Linked DNA regions of Homo sapiens: regions 2 and 3 are each linked to region 1. Evidence: promoter capture Hi-C in human tissues and cell types (Jung and others, 2019). All regions are on one chromosome and are shown on one strand. Each heading gives the region's core, a stretch centred on a gene start or on the middle of the fragment in contact. The rest is flanking DNA. Distances are from core to core; before and after follow the strand shown. Region 1 holds the start of SLC26A6 (solute carrier family 26 member 6). Region 2 has its middle 18 kb from the start of NME6. Region 3 overlaps ARIH2 (ariadne RBR E3 ubiquitin protein ligase 2).

Evidence for each region. The method cuts DNA at HindIII sites, captures the fragments that hold promoters and counts their contacts. A contact is called where the count stands out against the background at its distance.
Region 2: a contact is called between a fragment that was not itself captured here and the fragment with the promoter of SLC26A6 in region 1, in 1 of the 25 tissues and cell types used here (IMR-90 fibroblasts).
Region 3: a fragment that was not itself captured here is called in contact with the fragment with the promoter of SLC26A6 in region 1 in 1 of the 25 tissues and cell types used here (liver).

Annotation. Positions count from the first base shown.
Region 1 is chr3:48,633,152-48,637,227 of GRCh38, forward strand. It overlaps SLC26A6 (solute carrier family 26 member 6), which reads right to left and starts at 2,310. Exons shown (of 21, transcript NM_022911.3): 1 at 2,220-2,310; 2 at 326-484; 3 at 100-239. The coding sequence starts at 2,242. It overlaps CELSR3 (cadherin EGF LAG seven-pass G-type receptor 3), which reads right to left. Exons shown (of 35, transcript NM_001407.3): 35 at 3,312-4,076. MIR6824 (microRNA 6824) reads right to left here and starts at 547; the gene lies at 485-547. RefSeq lists silencers at 1,749-1,848, 2,239-2,518. The HindIII fragment of the contact is 9,287 bases long and covers 1,348-4,076 here.
Region 2 is chr3:48,280,997-48,285,072 of GRCh38, forward strand. No RefSeq gene overlaps it. Among named protein-coding and RNA genes, the nearest start is that of NME6, 18 kb to the right of the region's middle. The HindIII fragment of the contact is 8,358 bases long and covers 1-4,076 here.
Region 3 is chr3:48,932,700-48,936,775 of GRCh38, forward strand. The region is part of intron 3 of ARIH2 (ariadne RBR E3 ubiquitin protein ligase 2); the gene reads left to right. Among named protein-coding and RNA genes, the nearest start is that of ARIH2OS, 15 kb to the left of the region's middle. The HindIII fragment of the contact is 3,938 bases long and covers 1-3,672 here.

The sequences.
Region 1 (4,076 bases), core at 1,060-3,559:
CTGGGTTAGGTGCCATAGTTCCAAGGTAGAGGTCATGGCCCCAGTTTTGGGCATCACAGACCACAGGGTTTCCAGGCCGACGCACTGAAGGTGGCTCACCCTGCGGAAGCTGCATGATGGCCACACTCAGGCCGGATAACAGGTCACCCAGGAGCCAGTCACGCACAGGATACCGGGGTAACCAGACCAAAACCGGGAGGTGTTGGAGCAGAAGGGCATAGGCCCGAGCACGGGAGCACCTAGGGACATGATATGAGGGGTAGGTGTCAGGAACAGGGGCTACCTGGGCCCCGCCAGCGCCCCCAGGCCCCAATCTTGGCCTTACTGCAACCAGGTCCGCCACTGGTGGGTCCTAGGTGCTGAGCCCCAGCGCCCCAGCTCCTCCAAATGCTCCTGGTTCAGCAGCGGCCGTTCCATGTGGTAGTCTCGCCTCCGCAGGTCCATTGCTTGTGTTGCAGACAGCAGTGCCTGTGTGTCCCTCGGTCTGGGGTGGCAAGACCAGAGAGACACAGTGAAGGCATCCCTGGCCCAACCTCCCCTACACCTCCACCTAGGACCAGAGAGTTACCTACCTGATTTTTCCAGGCCCTAAGATCAAGGTACAGTATTCCAGCCCCCAGCTGGCATCTGTGGGCCACATGTCCAAACTCAGACAGGGGCAGTACCTGAACTTTGGCTGGTGAGAAAGCCTCTTTCTAGGACAAAGTCCCCCAAGTAGGGACTGCAGGATGAGCACTAGCTATACCTCCAGCCGAGATGTGGCAGCCCAGTGCTGAGTGTTCTACCAGTCCAGGTCCCAGGCTGCTCCCTCCCCCACCCAGTCCCTCTCCAGTCCCCAGGTCCTCCTCCAGCTGCCCCGGGAGCCCACTGCTGGCTGAGAGCACACTCAGGGAAGGGGTCCAGCAAACCAGGGGTCCAGCTCCTCAAGCAACTCCTTTCCCAAGCCTCAGGCCTCAGATGAGACCCTCCCCTCTAAGGGAAGGAAAGTGTTGGAGCCAAGCTTGCCCCTGGGCCTCCAGCCCCAGGGTCCAGGTTGTAGACGGCTCAGGCCTGTTATGGGGAAGCCAAGGACTGGCTCTCACCTGAGAAGGAGCTTGCTCTTGGAGTGGCAATCTCTCACCTAGAGGGAGAGGCTCCCACATGGAAAGGGAAGTACCCACTTGAAGTGGGGGAAAGAGCTCACCTGGGAATAGAAGCTTTCAAGGGGAATCTCACCTAGAGGGATCTCTGACCTACCAGGGAATCTTTATCAGCCTGGCAAGTTCTGATACAGGGGGAATCTTCCCTCTGCCCAGAGGCACCTACTTGAAGTCAGAGAAAGATCTCACATGGGAAGAAAAGACCTAGAGGGAGAGGGTTCTCACCTGGGGGGTACTCTCCCATAGAGAAAGCTCTGACCTCGGGCGAGGCTCCCACGTGGAATGGGGAAAAGCTGTCACCTGGGAATAGATCTCACAGAAGGATCTTACCTGGGGGAAAACTCTAGCCTGTTGGGGAAGCTTTCACCAGTCAGGAAAGTTCTGATCTAGGAAAAGCCCTGACCTGGGGAGAGGATCCCATTTGAGGGACAGGAACTCACCTGGGAAGCGCCTCTAACCTGGCTGTACTGTTGGAGGAGTGTGGAGTGGGTGCAAGGAAGATCCTCAGAGACTCTTGGGACCGCTATCTCAAGGAGATCGTAGAGCCCCCTCTCCTTTCCTACGTGAGTCACTCAGGTCTTCTTAAAGGGCTCCCTCCCCCGACAACTTGGGACCCGCGTTTGGAGGGCGGAGCCTTGATCATTGGCCCCTCCCTGTAGGAAGGCAACTGGGGCCAGAAAGGCCGGAGCGCTCACTCCGGGATCAGTGGAGCTGGGTGGACTCGGGACTCAGCTGAAAGCAGCTAGTCCACGGGCCGCTGCCAGGGACTCCCGTGCCCCACGCACCCCCGCCGGCACATCTCCTGGCCGGGCTCCTCCGCACGCAGCTGCCTCCCTGTGGCCCGGGATGGCCCTCGGGCGTCACACCAGCGGCTTTCCGCACAGCCCAAGGGACTGGGGTCGCGCCGGCTCCCGCCCCCACCCCTTGCTGCAGAGGGGCAGCCGCCTGCAGAAAATCAGCAGAGGTAAACCGAGGCGTCGCAAGCGGAGAATGCCTGCTCCAGCGAGGCGTCGCAAGCGGAGAATGCCTGCTCCAGCGAGGCGCTCGCGCGGGGCCACCGGGAATGTGCGCTGAACTCACCCCGACGCATCCGCCAGCCCCATGGCTCGCAAGTTGTCCGGTGCGGGCTGCTCCTGCTGCTCGAGCTAGAGGCCGCTACGCTCCGGAAGGCGGCGCCGGGACCGGGTGAGGCCAGCTGCGCTCTCCCGGGGGCTAATCCCGGGGCAGGACGGGGAGGCTTGGGCCAATCAGCGCGCTGGGGCGGGGCCTAAGTGGCGCGCGCCGGGCGGGGAGAGACTGGAGAAGGAGGATTTAACCGCTTCCTCCCCGGCGACCTGGCCTATGAGGCCTCTCGCTGCTCGCCCGGCCCTCTGCCCGGAGCTGGATGGGACTGCAGAACTGGAACTAAGCACCCGCGCCGGGCTGGCCGCAGTCGCGCCCCCAGGCCCTGAGTAGGTTGGAGCTGATCCCAGGTCCTGGCTCGGCGGAAGGTGCTCACGGAGTGGGAAAAGGAAACTCCACTGGCCGGTGACCCCAGCCTTAACTCGTAGGGGATCCAGGTCTGTGGGGCCTCTCTTGCCTTCAGCTGAGAGCGCCACCCGCAGGCTTTCTGCGACTACGCATCTCTTTGAGACCCGGAGCCAACGGTCCCCAAGTCCTCCCCTTTAACTCTGGCCACCCAGGCCAGAAATGGTTGGAGGATCCCCTCCGCTGCACTAAGCACAGCCCGGACGTAGCTCCCAGAAGGTTACTGCGCGGGCCGCCGAGGAGAATGGTGGGGGTCAGTGCTGTTGGGTGGGCGTCAGTGCTGTTGGGTGGGCAAGGCAGGAACTGCAAGAGCAGTTCCTCAGGTTGGTTTCACCGCAGGTGAGGGCAAAAAATGCCGGGTCAGGGCTGCAGACCCTGAAGAATTAGGAAGTCCTGTTGCCGTTGCCTTGACCAGCGGGGAGGTTTTCCTTAGCACCTTATTTTCAGCACCTGTGCTCCAACATCAGGCCCCAATTACAAAGTGAGGGGCCAGATTTCAAGGTGAAAGAGATCTGCCATGAAATGGGCTAAAAATAGCTGGATATTCTTGGGAGGGGCTCAGATTCCTCCCAAAGGTCAGTCTGGCTTGAATCATTCACAGCTTCCATCCTACCTCCCCAGCCCCCAACAGGAAAAGGCAACAACTGTTTTCTATAGAAGTTTATTCCCAAAACAGAGCGCGGCTTCACGGAACAATTTACACAGACAGGAAAGAGGGCCGCTGGGCTGGAGGAGGGGAACCCCAGAGAGGGGCATCTACGAAACCTAGGACATAGTAAAGACACCCTCCCACCCCCAGCAGGCCACTCAGCCCTTCAAGAGCTGGGGTCCTTCTCGGTAAGGAGAGTTTGGGTCCTGGCTGGTGGGATTTAGCTCCAGTCAGGGAAGTAGAATTTCTAATCTCCCAGGAAGCTGCTTCCCAAGAGTATGCATGGGGTGGTGGGTGAGGAGGTGTCTGCACAGACCACCCCCCAGCCCTGCACAGCCACTCTCCCCCGTGGTTAGAGGACGCCTACTCTCAAGGTCTTCTGGATCTGCTGTTAAACGGGACTCAAGGCTGACCTTCGGCCTGGGAGACCTGGGGGTTAGAAAACCCCTCAAGATGGCCAGGTCAGGGTCCTCACAGGTGGGTCCTCCAAGTCCCTCTCCCACTTTCCCTACCTTTCACTTGGAAACAAAGGAAAAAAAATTATCTACTGTAAACAAAGTGTAAAACTCAAAGTTTTGAGTTGTAAACAAAGTAAAAACATTTTTTGAATCTGGACTTGTAAACAGTAACAAAATTTTAAAGTCTTCAGTTCTGGACAGCAGACAAAATAGCAAAAGTAAGAGTTTTGTGAACAGGGTCGTAACAGTCATTTTTCCCTTTTTAAGGGAATAAAGGAGGAGTGGAACGGAGTCACTTCCTGC
Region 2 (4,076 bases), core at 758-3,257, 350 kb before region 1:
CCTTGTCCAATCAGGTCTTTGACAGTCATTAAGTCATTAAAGCTGTGATTTCTCCTTCTCCTGGGAGTCTATATTGTTTCTGTTGAGCCGGCCAGAAGGGAACTGAGATCTCTTTATGTGAAAAACCCTGAAAGGGAGAATCCTGTGACATACATGAGCATTCTCAGTACAAGCATGTAAAACATCCGTGAACCGTTATACAGTCTGCAGTGGGAGCCATAACAGGACTCTGGATTGGCTCAAAAGCCCCACTTGGCTGGGCACAGTGGCTCACATCTGTAATCCCAGCACTTTGGGAGGCCAAGGTGGGCGGATCACTTGAGGTCAGGAGTTCGAGACCAGCCTGGCCAACATAGTGAAACCCCATCTCTGCCAGCTGATCTGTTCCCAAGCAAAGAAGAGAGACTACCAAATATATGATGCTGGTAACAATAGCATGCCTATCTTATAGATGAGCAAATAAAAACAAATGTAGATAACTTGGCCATGTTCACACAGCTAATAAGTAATGGTACTTGGCTATAGCCTGGGATTCTGGAAACATCTGGAGTCTGGGTCTGAGAGGCTGTTCTGTTCAATTCCTTGCCCCCAGGCAGCCTGGTTCTTCAAATTCCTCTGGTCTCCTAAAATCTGACTAATTCTGGCCTGGTGTGGTGGCTCATGCCTGTAATCCCAGCACTTTGGAAGGCTGATGTGGGTCGATCACCTGAGATCAGGAGTTCGAGACCAGCCTGGCCAACATGGTGAAACCCTATCTCTACTAAAAATACAAAAATTAGCCAGGCGAGGTGGCTGGCACCTGTAATCCCAGCTACTCAGGAGGCTGAGGCAGGAGAATCACTACTCAGGAGGCAGAGGTTGCAGTGAGCCGAGATCATGCCACTGCACTCCAGCCTTGGCGACAGAGCAAGACTCTGTCTCAAAAAAAAAAAAAAATTCGAATTCTGATACAAGCAAGATTTAGGTGTCTGCTACACCAGACCCATCTCCAGAGACCTCTCAGGTGAGGATTACAACGTGGCCTATTGACATTTTCCAAGCTGGAAACCTCTATGATAAGGCACTGCAGAAATAGTACCTGGTAAACATTTGTACTTCTTATCCCTGGAACATTGGATCCTTCCAGCTTAGAATTCCTTGTTAGTGGGGGCAGAGTGGGGAGATGTTTCTACCAAAGAGCACAGGCAGTGTCTGCTAAACTAATGTTGTTACTAACTTGGTCATTCTGGCTTTCCCACGATGGTAGGCTGGCAGGAAAAGGGAGGAGCCATTATACTTACGTAGGTCATTGACCCTGATTATCATGCATTGGTGATGTTGCTACTCAAGTATATCTGAACCCAGGAGGTTCTGTGAATGCTTCCATACCCAGGCATAACCATCAGTGGGCACTTGCAGCAATCGCAGCTCTCTATCAGGGTAAGTCAGCTAAGGGATCTGACCTCTTGGAAGTGAAAGTCTGTTTTCCCAGTAGGTAAGCATCTTCGACCTGTAAAGGTTGGCTCTGGGGGCAGGAACTATAATATGGTTGATAAAGGAGGGAGGTAATAAGAATCAATTATGGCTTCAGGCCCAGTTGTAATGGTGGGAAATGTTATCTTTTCCACTAATCCACTTATATTGAGTCTTAAGTAGAGATCGCGGCTCACTAGGTTCTTGCCTGACTCTCTGATATGCTGAGCTACATGCAGAGCTGGCGCATGGGCAGACCCAAACACAGGCAGGGGAGGATGGCACTGAACAACTTTTATGCCCCATCTCACGTCCTCTTGGCCCACATTCCTACCCTGACCGTAGCTGCACTCAGGTGAAATCAAAGACCTCCTCACCGTTTCTCTCATGCTCCTTCTAGGAGCTTCTCTGCTGATGCAGTGTGGGAAGCCTGCAAGAGCCCCTCAGCCTTTCTGGCATATGCAAGTCTGGGACTGCAAATGGGTTAGGTCTCCCTGGCAAATCACTGACAACGGATGATGAAACCATTGGACAAACAACCAGCCTCCTAGGCTTTGGTGGGAGACAGAGGACCACCAACTAGATTGAAGCCCATTGTCCACAGTGGTAACCAGCTCAATACCCTATGCTTGGGATGGCCTTCCCTTCTCCTTTCTTTTACTCTCTTAGTGTCCTGATGCCTGTTTTCTGAGACCCCTTCCTAAAATAAACTACTTGCACACAAGTCGCCATCTCATGCTCTGCTTTTGGGAGGCCTTGAAGCGTAGTGTATTAGTCTGTTCTCATGCTGCTAGTAAAGCATACCTGAGACTGGGCAATTTATAAAGAAAAGAAGTTGAATTGACTCACAGTTCACATGGCTGGGGAGGCCTCACAATCATGGCTGAAGGCAAATGAGGAGCAAAGTCATGTCTTACATGGTGGCAGGCAAGAGAGCTTGCATAGGGGAAATTCCGTTTATAAAACCATCAGGTCTTATGAGACTTACTTACTGTCACAAGAATAGCACAGGAAAGACCCAACCCAAGATTCAATTACCTCCCACCAGGTCCCTCCCACAACATGTAGGAATTATGGGAGCTACAATTCAAGATGAGATTTGGGTGGGGACACAGCCAAACCATATCACATAGACACAAGAGCTATTGAGACAAGTGTAAGCCTGTGACTCCTGGGACCACTAAACCAGAGGAAGAGCTCTCACCTGAATTATAATTTGTGTTGGGAGGGTTCCCTTTCAAATTTATATTCTGTGGGAACTCATAATCTCAGTTGTCTTCTTACTCTCCTGTATCCTCTGTTCCTCTCTTTTGGCAAAGAACTAGAGCCTATAAATCAATTTGTATTTTACCAGTCCTTCAAAATGTCCATAAGTTGCCAAATTTCCCTAAACTTGACATATTTCTCCTTAAGTCATAATTAAACTTAACAGTCTATACTCATTGTCTTTGTTTCCTTAAATCCAAGTTCTCCATTTTCTTGCCATTTTTCACTTACAGGATCATCTAAAATTTGTGGGTGAGGTTTCTTTACATTGGAAATTTGTAGGGAAACCCCACCTGGAACATCCAAAGATGGGAAAGAGTTGGGGGTCAGAGCCATGGATAAGATACGAACGTCCCAGATTGAGACTATTTAGGAAAAACATGTCTAGTATCTGGGAAGAGATGTTATTTTGAGAGAGAAAAAAGCCACTCAACTGTGGTTGCACTGCCAGAGACCCGGTTACCACCCAGTCATCCATAGCACAGAAAGTCCCCCACTTACAGTGGTTTGACTTCCATTTTTCAACTTTATGATGGTATGAAAATTATAGTACTCAGTAGAAACTGTACTTAGAATTTTGAATTTTGATCTTTTCCCAGGCTAGCAATATGCAATGTGATACTCTCATGATGCTGGGCAGTGGCAGTGAGCCATAGCTCCCAGGCAGCCACACGTTACAAGGGTAAACGATGGACGCTACAGTTCACTGTGCTGCCCGATAATTTTGCCCAACCATAGACTAGTATTTTGTTTGTTTGTTTGCTTTTGTGGCAGTGTCTCACTCTGTCACTCAGGCTGGAGTGCAGTGGTGCAATCTTGGCTCACTGCAACCTTCTCCAGGGCTGAAGCAATCCTCCCACCTCAGCCTCCCAAGTAGCTGGGACTACAGGAACGTGCCACCACACCCAGCTTATATATATATTTTTGGTAGAGACAGGGTTTCACCATGTTGCCCAGGCTGGTCTCGAACTCCTGGCCTCAAGTGATCTGCCCATCTCAGCCTCCCAAAGTGCTGGGATTATAGGCATGAGCCACCGTGCCTGGCCTAATGTAAGTGTTCTAAGCACGTTTAGGTAGGCGAGGCTAAGCTATGATGTCCAGTAGTTTAGGTGTATTAAATGCATTTTTGTCTTATAGTATTTTCAATTTAAGATGGGTTTATCCGGATGTAACCTCATTGTTAAGCTGAGGAGCATCTGTATTACCTTTGTAGGGACAGGCAAACCTATAGGAAACCTAAAATACCAGTCTTGGCTCACAGTTCCCAGTCCCATGAGTTACAAATCTTCAATGGCTAACCAGAAGACAAACCAACACAAACTACCTGCTTCTGTAAAATGCTCTAAGAGGGATGGGAG
Region 3 (4,076 bases), core at 454-2,953, 300 kb after region 1:
TCTCCTAGTGCCCTCATCTTAGCATCATGTTAGGGGTGTGGGCAGGAGAAGTGAATGTTGTTCAGGGACCCACCCCATTGCTTCAGGAGGGGAAAGAAATAGGCCACTTTGAGCTAGATCTAGTCCAGGAGGTGTAGTGAGCTACCTGAGCTTTGTGTTGAGGCCAGAGGACCTTGAAGGTGGTGTAGAAGGGCAATGCAGGTTATAGAAGTCCTGGCTCCACAGGGCAATGGGCATGGGAGTGGGAGGGTTATCTTCTGGGCTGGAATGAGGGTCAAAGATGTATAGGTAGAAAGGAATATTATGATTGTAGCCTCAAGCATCTTTGCTGTTGGTGGAAAGGAATAGGTTTTGTAAACTATAGGAATAGGTTTTTAATAGGATTTTTTGTTTTTGAGACAGCGCCTCACTCTGGCACTCAGGTTGGAGTGCAGTGGCACGATGTTGGCTAACTGCAGCCTCCAACTCCCAGGCTCAAACAATCCTACTTCAGCCTCCCAAATAGCTGGGACCACAGGTGCGCACCACATGCCCGGGTGTGTGTGTGTGTGTGTGTGTGTGTGTGTGTGTGTGTGTGTGTGTGTGTGTGATCACAGGTGCGCACCACATGCCCGGGGGTGTGTGTGTGTGTGTGTGTGTTTTTGGTAGAGACGGGGTTTTGCCATGTTACCCAGGCTGGTCTCAAACTCCAGAGTTCAGACAATCCACCCACTTCAGCCTCCCAAAGTGCTGGGGTTACAGGCGTGAGCCACCACACTGAGCCTAGGATTTTAAATAGGTATTTAAATAGATTTTTAAAACTTATTCAGCACATGTGTGGCATAGTGAAGTATATTGCTCACTTTTTTTTTTTTTTTTTTTTTTAGTTGAGACGGACTCTCGCTGTGTCACCCAGGCTGGAGTGCAGTGGCACGATCTCGGTTCACTGCAAGCTCCGCCTACCGGGTTCATACCATTCTCCTGCCTCAGCCTCCCAAGTAGCTGGGACTACAGGTGCCCGCCACCACACCCGGCTAAATTTTTTTGTATTTTTAGTAGAGACGGGCTTTCACCTTGTTTGCCAGGATGGTCTCGATCTCCTGACCTCATGATCCACCCGCCTCAGCCTCCCAACGTGCTGGGATTACAGGTGTGAGCCACCGCGCCTGTCCCTATTGCTCACTTTTTAAGCCTGTTCCCCAGATAGGATTGGAGAAATATGCCAATTATCACAAATGTTTTTACTACATTTCTTCTTGCTTTATGAATTGCTGTATTAACTGCAGTAAAGCTATGAAAATATTTCCTAGAACACTCTATTCTGCCATACTCTTTTGTGAATTTTTTTAAAAATCTGGTGTTTGCTCTTTAGCAAAATGTGACTGGAAAATCTCTCTAAGATTCTGCTGTGGATAATTTTTCCCCTCTGTAGATGAATAGTAATGAGTTGTCAGGGCTTCTGACTCTTAAGTGCCGAAGTCTTTATAGTCCTGTGTTCAAAACAACCTGGCTTTTTTGCCTTTTTCACTTGTAACGTGATCAATTGGTGTTCATAACAACAAAATACATTATTTTAGCCATTTTCTTAATTGGTACTAAATACTTATATAATGCCAAGTTAAAAGATAACAAGTATCTGGTGAAAACTTTAATTATTAAATCAATTTTCTTTTATTCTGATATAGCTGAATTTTAAGATCATTCTATTTTTATTTACTTACAGTCATTAATTGACCAATAATGGTTTGTTGTTGTTGTTGTTATTATTGTTGCTACTACTCATGGGAAAGTATCTTCAAGCTGGGCCTGGTTACACTGAGTGTTTGTGTGCTGAGCAGCCCTCTGATTTCTATTTTTGTGATCTGATGTGAGCTGTCTTTGCATGCCTCTATCTAAGTAGAACTTAGGTTAAATTCCTGCGTTTCAAATAGCTGGCCGTTAATAGGTTTGTTAACATGTTTCACAGTGTTTTAGTCCAGAAGTCTGAGGTGTGTTTACTGATGTGTAAATTCATTTTTAAAAGGCGATGAGAAATGTCCAGAGTGACATTGAGAATGGCCTAAATACAAATGGTGCAAAGATGTCCTTGTCTTGCCAGCTTAGAAAAGTTATTGTCATCGCTGTGTACCTGATACCATACAAAACATGCTCATCATCTTCCAGAAAAGAAGCTCTTCATCAGATTCAAGGCCAGCTTTCATTCTAGTCTTTTTGTTGTGCTTTCTGTCTACCTCAGGAAACATGGAAGTCATGTGTAATCAAGGGGTGATACGGTATTTGTGTGTGTTTGTTTTTTTTTGACATTTATATTTTAATCTTGAGTTTATAAATTTTTTTGTCAAGATGTTACTACAGTATTTAAGAAAATAATATCATTCATGTTTTCATTAACCTAAAATAAGTTTTCTTGCTTGCTTATCATCCTTCAGCTCTTGTCCATATTCATACATAGCATTATTGTTCAGTATTTCATTCAACCAATATTGGGTATTTATTGAGAACCTACTACGCCTCCTGTTATGTTCCTGTGCCAGGCACATAACAGGAAAAATAACTGTAAACAAAACAGACAAAAATCTCTGCCCTGGTAGACATTGCATTATAATAATCAGTAGATATATGTATTTTATGCATTCTGCTTTTTTCATGTATATTTCAAACATTTCCCCATTTTTACTTTGTCCTCATAAATACTTTAAATGGCTGTGTAGCATGCCATCTTGTTTTTGAACTGTAATTTGCTTAAGCTTTCTGCATTGGGCATTTAAGTGAGTACCTATGTATTACAGTTGTTGGGGGACTGGTTACATTGTTGTGAATGTCTTTATGGATATGACTTTTATGTCTGTTGGGCCTTGTCCAGAGTCTGGGCTAGTGGTCAGATGATTGGGTTCCAGTCCCATTTTTTCCATTTAATATAATATGACCTCAGATAAGTCTGTCAGCATCTCTATGCTTGAGTTTCCTCATCTGTAAAATAATGATAACACCTCCTTCACAACATTAAATGTGATGATAATGCAGATAAAGTGCCTGGAACATGAATGTTCAAATCGATTTTGCTTGGTCATGGTAGAAGCGGGGCAAAAGTGGAAGGATGGGAGTGTTATTTGTCTTGGTTCCTTAAAACACATTCTCAGGGTTGTGTGTCTTGAATCATAGGGTAGGAGCCTACACATTGAGGATGGTTCTGGGCAATGTATTGCTGACTGGTGCGTCTGAGTGTGCGTATGATATTGGGTCATATACTTTGGATTATTTTACCTTCCCCTAGAGCCTCTGGTTCTCTTCTCCTGGGACCCACCAAAAGAAAAGTAAAAACAACACAAAATGAACTTTGAATTGGAGCCGGGAAAAAGATACAGGGAAATAATAGCTTGTTTGTACCTGTATTTGTGGTTGACTGCAATGTTTGGTCTTATGCCTATGTTAATAGCACTACTTAGTGTTTACTTGTTTTGGGGGTTCTTGTTATTGAGACACCTCCGTACTTTAATTTTGCCTTGCTCCAATCTAATTATCTTTTTTTTTTTCTTTGCCCTTGCTGCTCTAGGAAAAATTTGAAGGATTAGATTTGTCTTCCCCAAAGAGGGAAGAATTGTAGGAAAGATTTGAAAAAGGTGCAGAATGAGGAGTATTTTGCTCCTCCTGAAATGTATCTGCCCTCTAACTTTATTTCTTAAACTGACATGAACTGTCAAACATGAAGTTCCTTTTCTATCTAAACTTTAAACTTTTATAAAGTTTAAATCTTTATAAACATGAATGATTTCCACCAGGCACAGTGGCTCATGCCTGTATTCCCAGTACTTTGGGAGGCCAAGGCAGGCGGATCACCTGAGGTCAGGAGTTCAAGACCAGCTAGCTAACATGGTGAAACCCTGTCTCTACTAAATATACAAAAATTAGCTGGGCATGGTGGTGCATGCCTGTAGTTCCAGCTACTTGGGAGGCTGAGGCACGAGAATCGCTTGAACCTGGGAAGCGGAGGTTGCAGTGAGCCAAGATTGCACCACTGCACTCCAGCCTTGGCAACAGAGCGAGACTCTGTCTCAAAAAAACAAAAACAGGCCGGGCGCTGTGGCTCATGCCTGTAA